Linked DNA regions of Homo sapiens: region 1 is linked to region 2. Evidence: promoter capture Hi-C in 16 types of primary human blood cells and fetal thymus (Javierre and others, 2016). All regions are on one chromosome and are shown on one strand. Each heading gives the region's core, a stretch centred on a gene start or on the middle of the fragment in contact. The rest is flanking DNA. Distances are from core to core; before and after follow the strand shown. Region 1 overlaps ZNF318 (zinc finger protein 318). Region 2 holds the start of DNPH1 (2'-deoxynucleoside 5'-phosphate N-hydrolase 1).

Region 1 (3,985 bases), core at 2-2,501, 110 kb after region 2:
AAGCCCCCCATTTGCAAGGCCAGGGGGAATTTTTAGCGGGTTATACACCTTAGGTAAAATTAGGTATTTGCCCAAATTTAAACATAATTGCTGATCATCTGCTTCTCACAATTGAGGATATCTGATAAAAGTTGTTCCTGATGTTTGTAAAATTTAAAACATAGTTATATTACACCATAAGCTGCATTTAAAATTCAGGGCCCATTTCTTCCATGTGCCTAAGTCTCCTAAGTTGAAAGTTTATTCAGTACTGTGATAGTAGAGAACAACAAAAAAATATGCTCTATCTCCAGCTACTGGGTTAGAATTCTGTCCTTCCTTTCACCTGTCTTCTCTGGATAGGTTCCAAAGCTAGATCCCACTAACCAAAAGGAAGGAGGCAGCAACACTTCCTGCCCAGAATACAGAATCCTCAAAGTTCTCCCTCTGCTGGTTCAAGGAAGATATAAAGAATGTCACTCCCGTAACTCTTAAGTGAGCATTATTTTTGAAAAAGCCGGATTGGTAGATGCCTTTGGTGTAAATCCTGAAGTTATCCAGAGAATACAAGAGGAGTTACTACCAAAGCTTAGGCTCAAAGTACTCCAGCCCTAGCTACCTGAACTAGTTCTGCCCTTCCTACAATAAATTTTGCCTCTTTTTCTCTTCTCACTCAAGTAGCCCCCTCCTAACCTACAGGGTAAGATTTCAATGCCCTCTGAGGAAGTAAGGTTAGGATTGGGATCTTGATATGGTTACCTCCTCCCAACTCTTTCTCTAAAACCATCAGTCTCCCCCTAAAGGGAAGTGGAACTAAGTGAACAGGACTGAAAATCAGCACAAACTGGCATTAAAAATTATGTTCCCTGAATTCCTATAGATAACCTGCTATAACAGGGAGGGAGTAGTTCTCTGGGAAAACAAATCTCTCTGAAGCTTACTTGGGTTTAAACTCTTCTAAATGGCACCTTTTGAGTTAGTCTATGGTTTCCAAGCAAGAAAACTGCATTGAACTCAGGCTTTGTCCTAAAAACCAGGGCTAGAAAGGTGACATGGGCAGGATACCCTGACCCTGTACATATTGGTGCTAGGATAAAGATAACGATTCTTATCTCAAAGGAAACAACACAAAACAACTCTGTGACACAGTAAGGTAAACTAACTTGTCTAAAATCACAGCAAGGTAAATGACTGAGGCACAGTCAAGGATCTAGCTCTCCCAAATCTGTGTCCTTTCCATAACATAAGAGAGGCCAGAATGACTTCTAAATTGACATTAGTCAAAAAAATTAAAAATCCTTCCCAATGTTGACCTAGGGATTTTATAGCTCTGTACATAAGGAAACAGGAAAAAAAAAATTGGGGGAGCGGGGAGGTTAATCCAGATCAGCAATTTTGTATTATCTTTGAGGAACAGGTGGGTAAATAAGACTCCGAAGGCCCTGTTGAGTCAGGTTATAAACTGCTGACAACAGGGATACAAGAGGAAACTGGGACAGAGAAAATCTGAGGACTGAGCTCCCTAATTCCCAAGAGCAAGAACCTGATTGTCCTAGGGGAGCTCAGTTCCCAGAAAATCCTACGGAGAGTCAACACAAAGGTATATAAAAAGCTTCACAACAGGAAGATACCAATACCAGACAACTGTTGCCTACTCACTACCCACCCAGGCTGCGCTGGGGCAGACTATATATCCTAACATTCTGGCATGAAGTAGTTCTGACAAGTGAGGAAAGCATGGTTGCGGGTGCGGATAGACAATAGGGCAGCAGGGATTCACTGTTCTAGTTTTCCTTTGGAGTTCAAATGTGTGTGATTTCAAAACAAAAATCCAGAAGGAAACATGAGATTAATGCATTTATTCCAAGTAATTAACACATTAAAAATAAAGTTAAACTTGTCCAAGCCAACTCATAAATTCTTTAATCTTTTTAACAAAATATACAACCCCAAACATCGTACTATGGTTGAAATTAATTGGGAAAGGAGGAGGTAGAGGAAAGGATACATATGGGTTTGTGGAACAGGGAATGAGTTCAATCTCAAGACAAGTTTCAGAGATCTTCTACCCCTTCACAACACAAATGGCTGCTAAACAATTTAATACAAAGTGTTATTGGATCACAATACAATGAACAAAGGCCATTTCAAAAATAAAAGTGATCTCAAAAGCATATCTGCTCCTGGCAATGAACCATGAATAAGCCTTACCGATTTGTCGTCTTCTAAAAGTAAGCCTGCCAGATATTCTTCCATGTTTATTTCCAAACAGGTTTGTGGGTTAGCAGGACAATGCATCTCAAGAAAGGCAACAGAGTAAGGGAAGTACAGGAGTTGACATGCCAATAAGGGGTGTAAACAGTAAACAAAAGAGCTACTCACGCTGCATTTCAAACAATGTTAAGGCAGGCCCATCCAAATGGAAGCCTAAGAGATGAACAATTCTTCCAAGTTTTCCATTTCAGCAAGCTTTCTGGTGTTTTTCCCAGAGATGCATCAACTGCCCAGGAAATTGGGTAGGAATACAACACAGCAACTGGAGAGGTCAGCTGCCTCCATCCTCCCCCACATTTCAGAAATGGCAGAGTCAAAGCCAAAATACAATCAAAGCACACTATGTGGTGAGCCAGTTAGACATGTGATTTTAATGACAAAGTGGGAGAAAATAAATTGGCCAAAAAAATTAACAAAATACATTTTTACAGATATATATATATATATATAAGTTGTTATCGATTTGTCTGGTGTTTTAAGGGGAAAGGGAAAAGGAAAGGAGGTAAATTTTTTAGCTTCCATGAACATTTACTTTAAGATGCTGACTGCATCTCTTGGTGTAGGTTCCAGATGAGATAACAAACTAGTCTTGGATCATCTGGGCATCTGATTTCTAGAAGCCAATGATTCACTCACAAGTAGCTCTAGGTATTTATTCTTAGTTGTGAACACTGGATTCTGTGTGGTCCTGGATGGCACCAACTGTAGTTTCCTGTTCAGGCATTCCCTGAGGGACCATATTGTCTTCAATTACCTGCTCCCTTGGAGGGGACCTTGACACTGGAGCTTTAACCAAATTCAGAGGGTCGCCACTGTCATCATCTACTTGCAGAATTGCCACCTCTGTGGTGGATGCATTCGATATTTCTAGCTGTAATGGCCCCAACTCCAGGGAACTACATTTAGAAGGGTCACCTGGCTCAGAGAGTGGAGAACACAGTTTATCTTTTTGAACTCCAGAGGTCCGTGTGACAAAGTCAACAAGGTCTGGAAGGCAAGGAGATGGCCCAAGGCCTGCAGAATTAATTGTTTTTAATTCCAATCCGAGTGACTCTTGTTTGTCTAATTGGGAAGATTCTTTTACTTCCTCAGGCATCATTCCTCCTGCTAACAGGTCAAGGGCCTGGTGTGTTCCCTCTAGGCCCCCCAAGCCACGGTCAACATTTTCTGTAAGTCCAGTTTTCAAAATGTTAGGAGAAGGGATCCTAACACTCCTGGGATTAGGTGAGTTTCGTTCACCCTCTGTCTCAAAGTCAAGCACCAAGGTTTTGGGAGAATCTAACGGAAACCCAGAAAAAGATGGGATTGGTTCGAAGTCAGCGGGATCGGAGGAATTACACCCTATAGGTGATACAGAATTTTCTTCACACACTTTCTGACACAAGACAGTTGGGGATCTATGTGCTGGGCTTACCCGAGTAGTGCAGAAATCAACAGGCATATCCCCCAGATTCCCCAGGGCAGTAAGCTCCTCTACCTTTAAGTCTGTAGCTTCAAAGTCTTCTAGGGCCTTGCTTTCTATTGTCACTGTTAACTCTGGATGGACATCTTGTAGCTCCAGTGCTTCTGTTTTTGGTTTCTCTGGGCTCTCCCAGGTCTCTGGCCTCTTCTTGTTTTCATCCCAAACAGCCAACTCATAGATCTTTTTAACTTGAAAGTCTTTTGATCTTTCTCTCTTGAGTTTGAGACTTCTGTACCTAGAAGTTCTAGAAGCTGATTCTGGAGCTGAATT
Region 2 (4,246 bases), core at 679-3,178:
TAAGCTTCAGGGTCCTCCACTTGCACAGGCCCTTTCCAAACCATCAGCAACTTTGTATTGTGATTTTTGTCTTTTTAAAGAGGTCTCCCAGAATTGCATGAGGTCCCACAAATTGTGGGTCTGCTCTTGGGTAGGATAAGTGGAAACCACTTAAGGTTTTCTGAGCAGAAGCACAAGCATTCAAGATACAATTTTCAAACTGGAAGGATCTGCAAGATTCCAGACCAGCACATCAAATATGCTTTAGAGAAATCCAGCCAGACTCAGCGGCTCATGTCTGTAATCCCAACACTTTGGGAGGCTGAGGCAGGCAGATCACTTGGGCTCAGGAGTTCAAGACCAGCCTGGCCAACATGGCAAAATCCCGTCCCTATAAAAAATACAAAACTTAACCAGGTATGGCGGCACACACCTGTAGTCCCAGCTACTTGGGAGGCTGAGGTGGGAGGATTGCTCAAGCCCGGGAGGCAGAGGTTAGCAGTGAGCTGAGATTTTGCCACTGCACTCCAGCATGGGTAATAGAACAAGACTGTTTCCAAATAAATAACTAAATAAATAGAAAGAGAAAGAAAAACCCAGCAGCCAGGAGCAGAACACAATAATGGCCTGAAAGAGAATATGAGGCCAGCATGGGGGCTCACATCTATAGTCCCAGCACTTCGGGAGGCCTGAGGCGGGAGGATCACTTGAGGCTAGGAGGTCGGGACCAGACTGGGCAACATAGTGAGACTCCCAATCTCTACAGAAAAATTTTGAGCCAGGCATGGTGTCGTGCCCCTGCAGTCCTTGCTAATAGGAGGCTGAGGCTGGAGGATCATGAGTTTAGGAAGCCGAGGCTGCAGTGAGCTATGATCGCACCACTGCACTCCAGCCTGGGCGACAGAGAGGCCCTTGTATCAACAAAACAAAAATGTGAGAGAGGGTAATAGTGAGAACTGGGGTCAGCCAGGTCTAAAAGAGTGCTGATGTCTTCACAGAAAAAGGGGAGGCAGGCCCTGGGCGGTGGCTCCTGTCTGTAATCCCAGCACTTTGGGAGGCCGAGGCGGGCAGATCACCTGAGGTCAGGAGTTCGAAACCAGCCTGACCAATATGGTGAAACACCGTCTCTACTAAAAATACAAAAAGTAGCCGGGTGTGGTGACGCGTGCCTGTAGTCCCAGCTACTCGGGAGGCTGAGGCAAGAGAATCACTTGAACCCGGGAGGTCGAGGTTGCAGTGAGCCGAGATCACGCAACTGCACTCCAGCCTGGGCGACAGAGTGAGATTCCGTTTCAAAAACAAAACAAAACAAAACAAAAAAAGTTGGTGGGGAGGCAGGAGGATACCTTTCGTGTTGGGTGGTGGAAAAGATTCCAGCGGGTGAGGTGGGAACTGAGCCCAAGCAAAGCAGCCCAATCTACCTTCTTTCTGTTGCACCCTACAAACGCTCTGAAAGCAGCTGAAGACAGAGTTCTCCAAGAAGGAACCAAAGGTCAAGATAATGCTGAGTCTGCCTTACACCCGCAGGCTTGCTGGGACCCACGCAGCCCGAGCCCCGGCCCGTTTCCTTCTCGGGCTGGGGCGCTGGATGGAGCACCGGGGTAGGAGGGCGGGCTCCGGGCGCCGGGAGCGCAGCTGCCGGGGGTCGGGGGGGCGGACAGGCCGGGTCCCTGCCACCCCAGCCAGGTCCGCGCCCGCGTCCCCGCGTCCCGCGGCCCCAGGGCCTCACCGCGCGCGCCCAGCTCGGCGGCCGCCACGTGCTCGGTGAGCACTGTCCCGAATCGCCGCAGCCGAGACACGATCCGCTCGTACAGCGTCCTGTCCTCGCGTCCGCCGCGAATGCTCCCGCAGAAGTACAGGGCCGGGCGGCCAGGCTCCCCGCGCTCCCAGCTCTCGCTGCGCCCCGGCACCATGGCAGCAGCCATTCCCCAGCCGCCCGCGCTCTCCGGCGCCAGGGGGCGCCAGCCCGCGGCCACGTGACCCCGCCCGGCCCAGCGCAGAGCCCGGCTGCTGAGTCCACACCTGTGGAATGGGGACGACGAACTGGGAGGATCCAGCCGGGACCCTTTCGGGAACACACCCTTCCTGGACTTGACGTTCGGATGCCTAACACGCACCTTAACTTGACCTTGTCCAGGCAGAACTCGAGGGCTTCCCCACCTCACCCGCTTCTGCTCCCCTCCTCCCCGCCGTCTTCCCCAGCTGCATCCTCCCAGCTGCTCAGGCCCAAGACCCTCGGAGTCATCTGGATCGTTCCCTTTCTCTCAAACTCTGCGTCCCATCCATTGACAACTCGTGTGGATTCGTCCTTCCAAATCTGAAATCTCACGACCGCCTACAGGGCCACCACCCTGGTCTAAGCCTCCTCTGGGCTCTCCACAGCCTCCTAACAGGTGTCCACATGTCGTGAGCTGCTCAAGGTCAGACAGAACCAGGTCCACCCACCTTTGTGTCTGTCCACAAGATCAGGTTTTTACTGATGCTATTTCAATCACAAAAGCTAGGCGTCACACGGAGTTCCCAAGAAGTCAGTTCTCCTTAGGACCACCTGTTCACTCGGTAGTCAGAGCCGCGGGCATGCAAGCTGGAGCCACTCCACAAGTCAGACTGTATTGCAAACCATCCATAGTATTATATGTAAGGATATAAATGTTACAGGTTAAAATTTCACATCAAACACAAGAACATTTAACATCAAGAGAAAAGGGGTTAACGAACCAGTCCAAGGAGAGTGCTGTGGACAGAGTCCCGGCCTGATGGGGATAGTCATCAAGAGCTTGCAAGGAAGAGTCCTTGATTTGGGCAGAGCCTTCAGAGGCAGACACCAGGTGCTGGGCACGAGTGATAGCAAGACTCGGTCTGTTAAGGTGGCCGTGTCTAGCTGCTGAAGTCCTGATCATTTTATGGTCCTTGAGTCCTCTGATGAGGACTTATAGTAAAGGGTGATGCCCTTATCTGGTTGGGTGTTGTCTCCATTGGTTAGGCGAACATCTGGACCCTGTTGGCTTGATGCCTTTTGAAATGTAAGATGAAGTTTTTTAAAACTTTATTTATTTATTTATTTATTATTTTTGGTGACAAGGTCCCTGTCGCCCACACTGGAGTGCAGAGGCACGATCATTGCTCACTGCAGCCTCAAACTCGTGCCTCAAGTTTGAGGGTTCAAGGAATCCTCCCACCTCAGCTTCCTGAGTAGCTAGGACTACAGGCACGTGCCACCATGCTGAGCTAATAAAAAAAAAATTGGCTGGGCTCGGTGGCTCATGTCTGTAATCCCAGCACTTTGGGAGGCCGAGGTGGGCAGATCACGAGGTCAGGAGATCGAGACCATCCTGGCTAACGCGGTGAAACCCCGTCTCTACTAAAAATACAAAAAGTTAGCCAGGCGTGGTGGCACACTCCTGTAGTCCCAGCTACTCCAGAGGCTGAGGCTGGAGAATCGCTTGAACCCGGGAGGCAGAGGTTGCAGTGAGCCAAGATCACGCCACTGCACTCCAGCCTAGGCAACAGAGTGAAACTCCATCTCAAAAAAAAAAAAATTGTAGAGACGAGGTCTCACTATGTTTCCACGGCTGGTCTCAAAACTCCTAGACCCAAGCAATCCCCCTACCTCAGCCTCCCAAAGCGCTGGGATTACAGGCATAAGCGAATGTGCCCAGTGATGGAGTCTTTCTAAGATGGAATTACTTATGTCAAGGGTTCTCTATACACCTCCCCTGGCCCTTCCCTGCTACAGTTTGCTCTCCACTCAGCAGCTTGAGTGATCTAGGTCATGACCCTCCTCTGCTCAAAACCCTCCAGTGGTTCCCATCTCACTTGGGGTAAAAACTGAAAACCTCACAGTAGCTCACAAGGCTCCAGATGATCCTGTCACCCTCTTACTTCCCTAACTCCAGCTTCTATTACTTTCATTCACTTCTCTGCCACCTCACTGGCTTCCTGGCTGTTCCTTAAGCATGTCAGCCATGCCCTTGCCTCAGAGTCTTTGCATTTGCTGTTCCCTCTGCCCGGAACACTGTTCTCCCAGGTAGCTTCCTGGCTCACTCCTCATTTCCTTCAAGTCTTTGTTCACACTTCACCTTCCCTGATCACCCTATTCAATATGGCAGCCCTCCATCCCCCAGTACTCTCTATCACCCTTCCCTACCTTGCCTTTTCTCCTTCTCATACACCATATAACTTATTAATTTTGTTGCATGTTTTTCTATACCTAGTAGAAGGTCGTTCACTGCTGTATTCCTGCTTTCTTTCTTTTCTTTCTTTCCTT

The links. The method cuts DNA at HindIII sites, captures the fragments that hold promoters and counts their contacts. A CHiCAGO score of 5 or more calls a contact.
Region 1: a fragment that was not itself captured here is called in contact with the fragment with the promoter of DNPH1 in region 2 in 2 of 17 cell types (M2 macrophages and M0 macrophages); the score reaches 5.6 in M2 macrophages.

The regions. Positions count from the first base shown.
Region 1 is chr6:43,334,247-43,338,231 of GRCh38, forward strand. It overlaps ZNF318 (zinc finger protein 318), which reads right to left. Exons shown (of 10, transcript NM_014345.3): 10 at 1,824-3,985. The coding sequence ends at 2,912. Among named protein-coding and RNA genes, the nearest start is that of CRIP3, 27 kb to the left of the region's middle. The HindIII fragment of the contact is 676 bases long and covers 914-1,589 here.
Region 2 is chr6:43,227,553-43,231,798 of GRCh38, forward strand. It overlaps DNPH1 (2'-deoxynucleoside 5'-phosphate N-hydrolase 1), which reads right to left and starts at 1,929. Exons shown (of 4, transcript NM_006443.3): 1 at 1,709-1,929. The coding sequence starts at 1,904. RefSeq lists silencers at 1,538-1,727, 1,788-2,227 and an enhancer at 1,711-2,210. The HindIII fragment of the contact is 28,530 bases long and covers 3-4,246 here.